Linked DNA regions of Homo sapiens: region 1 is linked to region 2. The links are contacts of gene promoters, found by promoter capture Hi-C in blood cells and fetal thymus (Javierre and others, 2016). All regions are on one chromosome and are shown on one strand. Each heading gives the region's core, a stretch centred on a gene start or on the middle of the fragment in contact. The rest is flanking DNA. Distances are from core to core; before and after follow the strand shown. Region 1 holds the start of ZNF416 (zinc finger protein 416). Region 2 holds the start of ZNF260 (zinc finger protein 260).

What was found. Contacts are between HindIII fragments. The CHiCAGO score rates a contact against its expected background, and 5 or more counts as called.
Region 1: the fragment with the promoter of ZNF416 here is called in contact with the fragment with the promoter of ZNF260 in region 2 in 4 of 17 cell types (non-activated CD4 T cells, naive CD4 T cells, total CD4 T cells and 1 more); the score reaches 7.9 in non-activated CD4 T cells.

The regions. Positions count from the first base shown.
Region 1 is chr19:57,576,189-57,582,071 of GRCh38, forward strand. ZNF416 (zinc finger protein 416) reads right to left here and starts at 2,723. Exons shown (of 4, transcript NM_017879.3): 1 at 2,484-2,723; 2 at 1,869-1,910. The coding sequence starts at 2,516. RefSeq lists a silencer at 2,413-2,632. The HindIII fragment of the contact is 6,514 bases long and covers 1-3,046 here.
Region 2 is chr19:36,525,937-36,532,038 of GRCh38, forward strand. It overlaps ZNF260 (zinc finger protein 260), which reads right to left and starts at 2,335. Exons shown (of 3, transcript NM_001166037.2): 1 at 2,283-2,335. RefSeq lists enhancers at 1,632-2,342, 2,083-2,712, 2,343-3,051, 2,863-3,062. The HindIII fragment of the contact is 4,591 bases long and covers 803-5,393 here.

The sequences.
Region 1 (5,883 bases), core at 1,473-3,972, about 21 Mb after region 2:
TTGTCAGACAGTTCTCCTGGGGTTTCCAAAATTATGCCACTCACATACAAACAATGATGAGGTTTGCCATCATTCTTATATCCTCAATGCCATGGCCATGGGTTGTTCAGTTCACACTTCCTCTCCATATGCACATCACTCTTTGAAGCACACACTCTCTCAAACAATCTCACTCCCACGGCTATTTCCACCCTGTTGCCCCACACCATAGGCATCTCTCTGGCATCCCCACGATAGTTGGAATGCAACATTCAGAAAGTGCTTGGCAAACTGAAATGAGGTCCGGTGCCACTCAGGCTGAATGGTCCCCACTGCCAAAGGCAGCCCTTCAGAGACCCTGCTCTGAAGGCCTCCCTGCCTGACTCTGTCCCTTTCTACATCCTCAGTCACCCAGAAATACCTGGGGATCTGACACCGATGGCCCTCTTGCACTAGCGCTGCACTTGATGTCCTCTCTTAAGTCACAGCCTTCCTCTCCTGCTAACCCTCATTCAAAGTCTGCCCCAGGGGACCCCCACACCTCAGGCCCAATAACTCCCAGATGACCACCTGTGCCCCTCAACTTATCCACCTCCCTGAAATTCCTGACACCTCAAGGGTTGCCACAAAACCCTGGTAGATATATCCAGAGTGCTGAGTAAGCACTAGTTCTGGTCTCAGTGTCATCTTGTCTCAATTACTTCCAAGCATTGATCTCATGCCCACTCTTCTCCTAGATCCTTGGCCACTTGCCAGATCATCCTTGCTCTCACACCCTACCATAGCCACCTCTCTCCCATACCTGTCTTTGTGATTCCCACCATGACCAACCATGTCCCCAAGCAGGAGAGCCAGTAGTGACCCCCAACCTTCCTTCCCTGGGCTGGTAATAGCATTACCAAAGTGATCACGATTCCACCTCCTAATTGTGTCCCAAGCTATACCCCTAGGCAAGTAGTGGCCACCACCTTTTAAATGTCTCTATCCTGAATCCCTCAACACAGTTCTAGTCCTGTAGGATAAACTATCCACTTCATGTCTAAACTAACTGTTCTTTGAAACATCTCAGACTCTAAAAGATGTCCCATTGGGCCATGTTCAGATGATTTTTATTAAAAAATTTTAAAAATAAAGATGGTCCATATCAAAATTTCTGATTATCTCTAGAGATAACTGACTCTACTACCAACTTTACAATCCTCGCTAGTGGAGCTTCCATATTTCCAGCTGCTAAACCCAAACACCTTGCTTTTACCCCTAAATCCTACTTTTCTATCTCAAAATCCAGGCTTCCCTACTTAAAAAAACTGATCTAAAATCCAACTACCACCTCCACAGCCACCACACAAGTCCAGCCACCAGTAACACTCACCTGGACTACTGCAGCAGCCTTCTTCACTATCTTCCTATCTCATACCTCACACTCAGCCTGTTCTCTCAGCTTGGCCACACACAGGGAACCTGATGAGACCTGGATCAGATCACATACCTCCTCTGCCCCCAAACTGTCATTGCTCATCACACACTCCAGAAGAAACACCCGACAACTGACAGCCATTTTTTGTCTGATTCCTGCATCCCAGCTTTCAGTTCCCATGAGAAAGAAAACAGCTGTAGTTTCCTAAACCAGCTCAGCCTGACCTTCAAGCACTTGCTCATCTGGTATCTAAGCCTGAGACAACGTTCCACACCTTACTTTACTGGTTCCCAGCAATAGGAACCATTCTATACCAGCTTCCAGCCTGGATGTATGACCCTGGGACTGATGTTTGTTCAGGATTCCTAGAACCAAGGACCCAAAGAGTGCCAAGAGAAGAGTCCCAGAACACAATCTCAGAGACAAACACTGGGGTCAGCATCAGTGAGGGCCCGAAACACTCTCCACTCACCTGTGTAAAGCCCATAAGTTTAGCTTCTGCAGTCACGGGAACCTGCGGGAAGAGGAAGGCTATGAGAGGCAGGTAACTATGGTGGAAGCTCCATGGGCTGATGCCTCCTTGTTTCCCTGCGCAGCCCTGGAGCCAGGTGACTTGGTGATGACTAAATTATTATTGCTCCTCAGTTCCGTGTGACTCTTACCTGCTGTGGGACCTTGCACAAGGACTCAACTTCCCTGTGCCTCGGTGTTATCCCCCTTCCAGGCTGTTCCAACTCTGAGTAACTTTAGAAAAAATTTGAAAAGTCTAACTCAGACCATGTGCCTCGTCTGTTCACAACCACCCATGGCTCTCAGCGTCTTGAAAAGAAAGAGCCTCATTTTACCATTCGGGCGTGAACGTTACTGGCTCAATCGTCCCAGCAAGATTCACAGAAACCGGCCCCTCCGCCTGCCACACCCTCCACAGCCCACGACACCAGGCTTGTAAATGGGAGCCCCACCCGCGAGGGCCTCATAGTCCTGGACTCTAGGGTCGGGCTGCAGGGACGCAAGCAGGCGCCCCTCATGCAGGGTGTTGGATTTCCGGCGGAGAGGGCAGGTGAGGCCCGGGAGACGCAGCACTCACCGAAGTCGAATCCCTAAGCACGGCCGCCGCCATCGGATTGTGAGCGGAGCGGGGCCGGGAGCGGCGGGCGACCCGGGGCGGGAACCCAGGCACGGCTGCCACCAGCGCCAGCGACCCACCGGCTGATGCGCAGCGGGGCGACCCCCGCTCTGTGCCGGAGGCAGCGTTTCTAACTCAGGCGGCGTGGGCCGAGGTAGAGAACCACCAAAATTACCATCTCGGAGCGGTGCCGGAAGTCCCGCCTTACCGTATGCAACAAACGGAGACAGGTCCGTTCCTGAACGTTGATTGGCTCCGCGTCTTTGCAGCTTGGCGCTCGGCATTATGGGTAATGTAGTTCTCAGAAGCCCAGGGTTCCGGTGCCCTCCCTGAGATTCACCCGGAACAAGGGCTAAGCGGCCCGCGGAGGGCGCTAGGAAAAGGCGCGACACCAAGAGCGAGACAGGGACTTGCTGCTCCTTAAAGGGGCCGCTGGCCGATTTCCGCAGTCCCATACCCACTGAAGGGAGTGTCTGGGTTAAGATAAGAGGTTGTAGAGACCAAGGTTCTTATTAAGCAGATGAAGCTTTCACGCAGCAGGCTTCAGAGGGAATAGATTGTAAATGTTTCCTATCAGACTTTGAAAGGTGCCAGACTCTTAATTCTTTCCTGGACCATGAAAATAAAAAAACCCTGGAGAGGAAAGGGGATTCTCAGCAAAATGCAGATTCCACAAGACACACCTTTGCAGGGCCTCTTCAAAATATGTCAAATAAATAAAGTTTAGAGTAAAATACTTCAATTCCTTTCAGGGCCTGCTATCTGTCATGTAATGCTATACTACAATCAGGCTGGAATTCACTGTCTTATTGCTACAAGAAGTCTTAAAATCTCTGTTTTAATGTTAATGCTGGTCAGTTGTGCCTGAATTCCAAGGGGAGGAGGGCAAGTCTGACCCTCACTTCCCATCACGTCCTGAACTAGTTTTTCAGATTAACTTTGGAATGCCCTTGGCCAAGAGGAAGGATGCATTCAGATGGTTGGGGGGCTGGGAATTTTATTTTTGGTTTACACTTCTCATGCCTCTTGGAATCTCTGAACCACATACAACGGCCATTTGTTGAGTAAAAGCTTCCAATGCAGGAAACTGTCTCTTTCAGCCTCATGCTATACACCATTAAAACAGTAATTACTGGCAATAAGACTGGGCTTTCTTAAACATACAGGATCTCACAGACCATAAGCCTATGATCCTTCATACCAGCTGCCCATAATACTTTTGGTTTTGGAAGCAGCACCCCATAACCTCAGCATGGCTACCAAGGCCTCCTTAAGACAGGGTAGAATGAATAAGATCTAGTATTTGATAGCACAGTAGAGAGACTACAGTCAACAGTAATTTATTGTACATTAAAAACAACTAAAAGAGTATTATAACTAGAATGTTTGTAACACAAAGAAATGATAAATGCTTGTGTACCCTGATATGATTATTACACATTGTATGCCTGTATCACAATATCTCACGTATCCCATAAATATACATACATACTATGTACTCATAAAACTAAAAATTTTAAAAGACAGATAAATGGCAAGCAGGTAGATGAAAACATGCTTAACATCATTGATCACTATAAAAATGCAAATCAAAACTACAATGAGATATCATCTCACTCTAGTTAAAATGACTTTTATGCAAAAGACAGGGAATAATGAATGCTGGCCAGGACAGAGAGGAAAGGGAAACTTCATACGCTGTTGGTGGGAGTGTAAATTAGTAAAGCCACTATGGGGAACAGTTTGGAGGTTCCCCACAGAAGTAAAAATAGAATTACCATATGATACAGTTTACACCACCCAGAAAAGAAATCAGTATATCTAATAGAGATCTGCACTCCCATGTTTATTGCATCACTATTCACAACAGCCAAGATTTGGAAGCTACCTAACTGTCCATAGATAAATGGATAAAGAAAATGTGATGCATATACACAATGGAGTAGTATTTAGCCATAAAAAAAGAATGAGATCCCATCAATTGCAAGAAGACGGGTGAAATTGGAGGAAATTATGTTAAGTAAAATAAGCCAGGCACAGAAAGACAAACTTCACATGTTCTCACTTATTTGTGGGAGCTAAAAATTTAAACAATTGAACTCCCGGAGATTAAGCTTAGAAGGATGGCTACCAGAGGCTGAGAAGGATAGCAGAAATGGAAGGGAAAGTGGGGATAGTTAATGGGTGCAAAAATATAGTCAGATAGAAGGAATAAGACATAGTATTTGATAGCACAACAAGGTGACTACAGTCAACAACAATCTATTGTAGAATTAAACATAACTCACCGGGCATGGTGGCTCACGCCTGTAATCCCAGCACTTTGGGAGGCCGAGGCGGGCAGATCACAAGGTCAGGAGATCGAGACCATCCTGACTAACACGGTGAAACCCCATCTCTAAAATCAAATCTCTATAATAAATCTCTAAAAATACAAAAAATTAGCCGGGCGTGGTGGTGGTCACCTGTAGTCCCAGCTACTAAGGAGGCTGAGGCAGGAGAATGGCGTTAACCCGGGAGGCGTTGCTTGCAGAGAGCTGAGATCGCGCCACTGCACTCCAGCCTGGGCAACAGAGCAAGACTTCGTCTCAAAAAAAAAAAAAAAAAAAAAGAATTAAACGTGACTAAGAGTATAACTGGAATGCTTATAACACAAAGAAATGATAAATGCTTGAGGTGATGAATACCATTTATCCCAATGTGATTATTACACACTGTGTGCCTGTATCAAACTACACCATATAACTCATAAATATATACACCTACTATGTACCCCTAAAGACTAAAGATAAGAAATCAAAAAAATAAAGACAGGATGGAGCTAAACCTGGGCCCTCTGGAATGTTCTACCTGCAGATGGAGCTGGCCTCCACTATCTTCAGTCCCTTGCTAGATGTCATGGTCCTTGAGGTCAACACTCCCCACACCTGCGGAATCCCTTGGGATTAACTGGGTGAACAGTAATCGAAGTTAGTGGACTATATGAATGACGCTGCCAAGCTATACTTGAATAGCTGTGCCAAATAGACAAACACAGAAAGAAAACACAAAACAACCCATCCACATCCTAAGGGCTTCACACTTTCTTGCACTCTATCTTCAATGTTTTTTCAGCTTTCTCTTTAGGTACTTATTGACTGTTGGTCTCACATAAGTTTAGCCATAGATGGAATTTATTACTGCTTTGTGACCACTGGCAGCCTCCCTCATCTCTGGCTGGGCTTCTCCCTGAAGGACTGGGCCTCAGGAGTAGGTGGGTCATTTGTCCCCTGGGCATGCCACACAGAGCAGGTTTTCCGAACTAGGCTATCCCTCCTCCCCAAGTTATCCAGGCAATTCCGCTAGTTCTATGCCTAGATGG
Region 2 (6,102 bases), core at 1,085-3,584:
AGGTGTCACTTGTGACCTTGCTCCTGAGTGAAGTCACATCTTTGCATATAATTTTTCCCCATAACACTTTTCTCATAAGTCTGAAGTAACCAACCTTGAGTGATATGGAAAAAAATACAGGAAATTATTCTGATGGTATTTATAGGTCAGAGCTCTAAAAAATTTAGAGGACTAATATTTTACTTAGATTAACTAGGAGAAGTTAAATATAGTAAGTGTCCTATAATAATAATCTTCCCTTGATATCACAGGAGATTGGTTCCAGGATCACTGTGGATACCAAAATCTGCAGATGCTCAAGTCCCTTATACTTCAAATATAAAGCCAGGCATGGTGGCTCACGCCTGTAATCCCAGCACTTTGGGAGGCTGAGGCAGGCTGACCACCTGAGGTCAGGAGTTCGAGACCAGGCTGGCCAAGATGGTGAAACCCTGTCTCTACTAAAAATAAAAAAATTAGCTGGGCATGGTGGCACACACCTGTACCTCAGCTACTTGGGAGGCTGAGGCAGGAGAATCGCTTGAACCCAGGAGGCAGAGGTGGCAGTGAGCCGAGATTGCACCACTGCACTCCAGTCTGGGTGACAGAGTGAGACTCCATCTCAAAAAAATAAAAATAAAGTGAATGGAAGTATATTTACATATAACCTATGCACATCCTCCCATATACTTTAAAATTATCTCCAGATTACTTATCATACGTAATACAACGTAAATGTCTGGTAAATAGTTGTTATACTGTATTGTTTAGGGAATCATGACAAGAAAAAAAAATCTGTACACGTACAGATACAACCATCGCAAGCTTAACAACAGTTATGATTCATGTTTGTTGAATCCGTGGAAGCAGAGCCTACAGACACAGAGGGCTGACTGTTCATTCACTGATTCAGCAAACATATACATTTATGATTATGTGTGCTGAGAAACCTTGGTTTACAATTTGTAATGGGATATAACAAATCAAAGGATCAAACTTACTTAGAAGCCTTCTCTAAGATGTAAGTGCCTTAGAACCTGGCTAGACAGTGCTATAAATTGCTGAAACAGGTACAGAGGGGAAATAGATGGAGGCAGACTGCAGGAAGAAGGAGCCCTTTAGACATAAAGAGCTTGAAGTTCCCTGTAACTTCCAGGTGGACTGCACATTGGGCAATTAGATAATATGGATTAGGAGCTCAGGACAAGCCTCCAGCAGAAACAGACATTTATTAGTCATCTGTATTAGATGAAGCCATGGATGGCAGTGTAATGTTGTTGCTGATAGGAGTACTTAGATGATCAAGGCCAGAAACTTAGAAACACCAATAGTTAGGGGAAAAGCAGAAACTAAGTCCTGTCTTCTTTGTATCTTTTACTTTTTCTGTATATTTCAAAACTATTAACCCTGTTACTTTTTTATTTTATTGAAAAATATGTTAAGAATAAGTGTGACAAGATACTTGAATATGTTGATATGTTAAGAATAAGTGTGACAAGATACTTGAAGATAGGATACTTCTATCTTTGTATACACAAGAAAAGAATTTCCCCTATATTTACAAAAGGCTGGGGAAACCCTGATTAAATTAGGAGTGAGATTGCTGCCCTCACTGACGAACTAGGGAGTTTCTTGACCTCTGCGCTAAAGGCAGGACAAGTAGCTTCCAAATTCTGTGCCGTCTGCGCTATTGGAAACTACCTCTTAAAGATATTCCTTAGTTCAGGGTTTCTCCAAGCAACTGCACCAAAGTTTCTCCAAAGTATTAAGAAAAGTCAATGCCTACTGGGTGTACAGGCACCCAGTAACAAGTTTTTCCGAAATCTTGCCTCTTTAAAAAAATAATGGAAAGGTAATGCTGATTTTGTTTTCTACTCCACAATAGGTCTGCTTTTATATAAAAAATCACCTTTAAAATTACTTATCCGCTCAATTCCTTAGCCTTTTCCGTTTCCTATTTTCCAGAAAACGCATCTTTATTATTTTAGAAATGAGAAAAGTGAGGCTTAGAGGTTACTACCTCACAAAGCCATCCGTCCATCCTCACAAACTTGGAACCAGTTTCTCACTAACTCTGCACCCTCAACACCCCCTCACACTCTCGGTCACCCACCCGCGAACCCACCCGAACTGTACCCCTGCCCCCAGCCACACAAGCTCGGATCACCGCACATCATAGAAGGCGATTCCTCCCCTCCATACTCCCAGCCCCGTCGCAGGCACTGCAAATCCTCCCCTCCAGCGTCCCTGGCCCGTTTCAGTGTCCAGAAACCCAAGTCCCACAGGGCCGAAACCCAACTCACCGGCAGACAAAGACGACCATGGCAAGTCGGAGATTCCGCGCCTGCGCACTCCTTCCGCGGGCAGCGCTCCCAGAGGTCTCCTGGGCTGGGCCAGGCCCCGACTCAGAACCGGACGGAATCGAGAGATCTTGGCCCGTCCTCCGTGCCACTCTTTTGAGGGTAGACTACATTTCCCAGAAGGTTCAGCGGTTTGAGTCAGCTTTTCGCGCGAACTTTTCCTCCGCCAGAGCTTGTGGGACTGTCTCCCTGGCCGGGGCAGGGGTGTAAGGCCTTAGTCTTAGTTTACTCTATCCCTGGGATTGGGTAGTGGTGTAACATCAGCTTAAACACGCTGTGCTGACTTTATGTAACAGCCACGGTGCGATACTAAGCCAGGAACCCCAGGAGACTCTCAGACACGGTTCGGGAATGAGGGTAATCCCTTTGGCTGGGCTCAAGCCGGGCGCCATCTTGCTCATCGCGGGCGTGGCGCTGAACTACATTTCCCAGAAGGCGCCGCGCCCTCGGCCCCTCCCCTCGCGACTCCCGCGGCTCGGGGGAGAGCTGCACGCGACCCAGGTGCTGGCCTCTGAGCGGGTCGGCTCGGAGACTACAGGATCAGGAGGAGGTTGGAGGTGAAGCGTCTGGAATCCGGTGCGGAGGTTGAGACTGAGTATTAAGTCTGTTCAGGCGGAACGCGCCGAGAAGGGCGGTTGTGAAATTGTGTTTTTGTGAATGTATGTCCTAGCACAGTGTGTGTGTGATTGTGATTGTGTGTGACACCTTGTGTACGGATGTGGGGAGGACTCTGCGGGTGTCCCGTGAGTCCCTGTGTTAGGACTGTTATTGTGTGACTGTGTAACGCTGTGTGAGGGTGTGGGTTAGCTGTGACTGTGTGCCCGCGGTGGGTGTGTGATTGTAACTCTGTGACCATATGTTCGTTTGTGTGCAGATATAGGGAGCTTTGTACTTATGTAGTTGTGACTCTGTGTCCTTGTGTGGGAGTATGGAGGGTGGGTGCTTGTGACTTTGTGTACAGTGGTGGGTGTGTGACTGTGAAGCATTGGGTGTGCGTGGAGTTGAGACTGTGTTTGTGTGTCTTTGACCAAATGTCACACATAGTCATATGTGAGAGCAGAAGACAGCTCGGCCCCGTGATAGTAAAGGGGATTTTTCTATGACACTGAGTTTTGAGTTGGAAGCCCCAGTTTCCTCTGATAGCCCTCCCATGGCGGGGGAGGGGAACGCAGAGTAAGCTCTGGCCTTGTCATTTGGGCCCTAGGGGAGGTGTATTGTCTCCCTTCTCATTTCTGTCCTCCAAGAGAGGTTCCCCAGAGGAGAGGAAATAACGGTTGTGATATCTAAAAGCCATGTTTAAGGTGCCTTGAAGTTTTCTCTTTGTTCCTGAAATGCTTTATTTTTCCAGGACCTGATTTTTTTTTTTTTTGAGATGGAGTCTCGCACTGTCGCCCGGGCTGGTGTGCAGTGGCGCGATCTCGGCTCACTGCAACCTCCGCCTCCCAGGTTCAAGCGATTCTCCTTCCTCAGCCTACCGAGTAGCTAGGATTACAGGTGCCGGCCACCACGCCCGGGTAATTTTTTTGTTGTTGTATTTTTAGTAGAGACGGGGCTTCACTATGTTGGCCTGGCTTGTCTTGAACTCCTAACCTTGTGAACCGTCCACCTCGGCCTCCCAAAGTGCTGGGATTACAGGCATGAGCCACTGCGCCCGGCTGATTTTTTTTTTCTTAGCAAATGCCTAAAAGGACTTATCAAGTAACCTGGAATCTTCTGTTACTCTTTGGAAAAATCTTCCTAATTTTGTCTTATTAATATAGCAAATGGTTCAGTTTATCATGTATGCTTAGTTTGGTTTTACCTATATACATATGTAGATATATATGCATATACATAAATATACATACACATATTTGTATATGCACATATTGAAATGTATCTCATGTTTTAAGTGATATTTTAACTTCCTACATAATTGAAAGCTATTTGAGAATATATTAAATTGTAGATACTGTTAATTGTTTTGCCACATATGTGGCTAACCCAATATCCATTCCCTTCTTTATTGCTATAAAAGTCCTGATCTTGTTTGCTCTGCTTAAAGAAAAACAAACAGAAAACAAACAAAAAACCCAAACTCTACGTGTTCTAGCTTCTCCTGTTGATGTAAGTTAAAGTTCTTAGATTGGGCTTCTCAGACAGTTTTTTTTTTTTTGAAATGGAGTCTTCACTCAGTCACCCAAGTTGGAGTGCAGTAGCGTGATCTCAGCTCACTGCAACCTTCACCTCCCGGGTTCAAGCGGTTCTCCTGCCTCAGGCTCCTGAGTAGCTGGGATTACAGGCGACTGCCACCATGCCCGGCTAATTTTTGTGTTTTTAGTAGAGATGAGGTTTCCACCATGTTGGCCAGGCTGGTCTCGAACTCCTGACCTCAGGTGATCTGCCTGCCTAGGCCTCCCAAAGTGCTGGGATTACAGGCATGAGCTACTGCACCTGGCCACTCAGGCAGTTCTTTAAAGGTATGGGGATGGGGTGGGGCAGGCTCAGTGTGCATACATTCTTTTTCCCCTTTCTGTCTGGAATGTGGATATTGTGCTACATGCAGAGCAGCTATCTCATAACCATGCATTTTTTTTTTTTTTTTTTTGAGACAGAAACTTGCTCTGTTGCCCAGTCTGGAGTGCGGTGGCGCAATCTCAGCTCACTGCAACCTCTGCCTATTGAGTTCAAGTGATGCTCCTGCCTCAGCCTCCTGAGTAGCTGGGACTACAGGCGTGCACCACCATGCCTGGCTAATTTTTGTATTTTTAGAAGAGATGGGGTTTCACCATGTTGGCCAGGCTGGTCTCAAACTCCTGACCTCAGGTGATCCGTCTGCCTCGGCCTCCCAAAGTGCTGGGATTACAGGTGTGAGCCACCATGCCCGGCCATAACCATGCATTTATAATGGAAGGAAGGAGATGAGAGTTTACAATGTCATATTAAATGAAAATAGAGGATTTTAAGTTATATATGTTGTGTGAAAGCAATTTGATTAGAAGATATGTATATTCTACCTATCTATGCATGAAATGTGTAGTTGCACTTTAATTTTCTTCATTGTAACTAGACTCAAGCTTGTGAAAGAAGGGACTTGTCTTTTTGTTTAGTTGTTCCATCTTCACCATTTACAATGGCTAGCACATAGTTGGCTCTCAGTAAATATTTGATTAATGAAAGAATAGTAAGTAGTTAATAAATGATAGCAGTGCTACTTAGTTTCTTTTTGGTTGCACAGAGGAAACATGCCCAGATTGCCTTAGGTTTCTGTTACTCTCTGAGATTACTCTGTGTTAACTCTACCTCTGGGGTAGTGAAGAGGTATGCCAAGGGGTGTTATAAGCCAACATTCTTCAGACTGGGTATAAGTTCTTCATCATCCATAGGACTTTTGATGTTGGGCGAAAGATATTCACTGCTTTGATTATTTATTGTTTTCTTTGATTATTTATTAAGTTTCTGTAAAGCATAAAATATAACCAATTTTTCTCACATTTAAACTTGATTATTAATTTTGATTAATATATATTTCTTTTTTTTTTTTTTTTTTTTTTGAGACAGAGTCTTGCTCTGTTGCCCATGCTGGAGTGTAGTGGCACACTCTCGGCTCACTGCAACTTCCACCTCCTGGGTGCAAGCGAGTCTCCTGCCTTAGCCTCCTGAGTAGCTGGGATTACAGGTGCACACCACCACGCCTGGCTAATTTTTTGTATTTTTAGTAGAGACGGAGTTTCACCATGTTGGCCAGGCTGGTCTCGAACTCCTGACCTCAAGCAATCCGCCC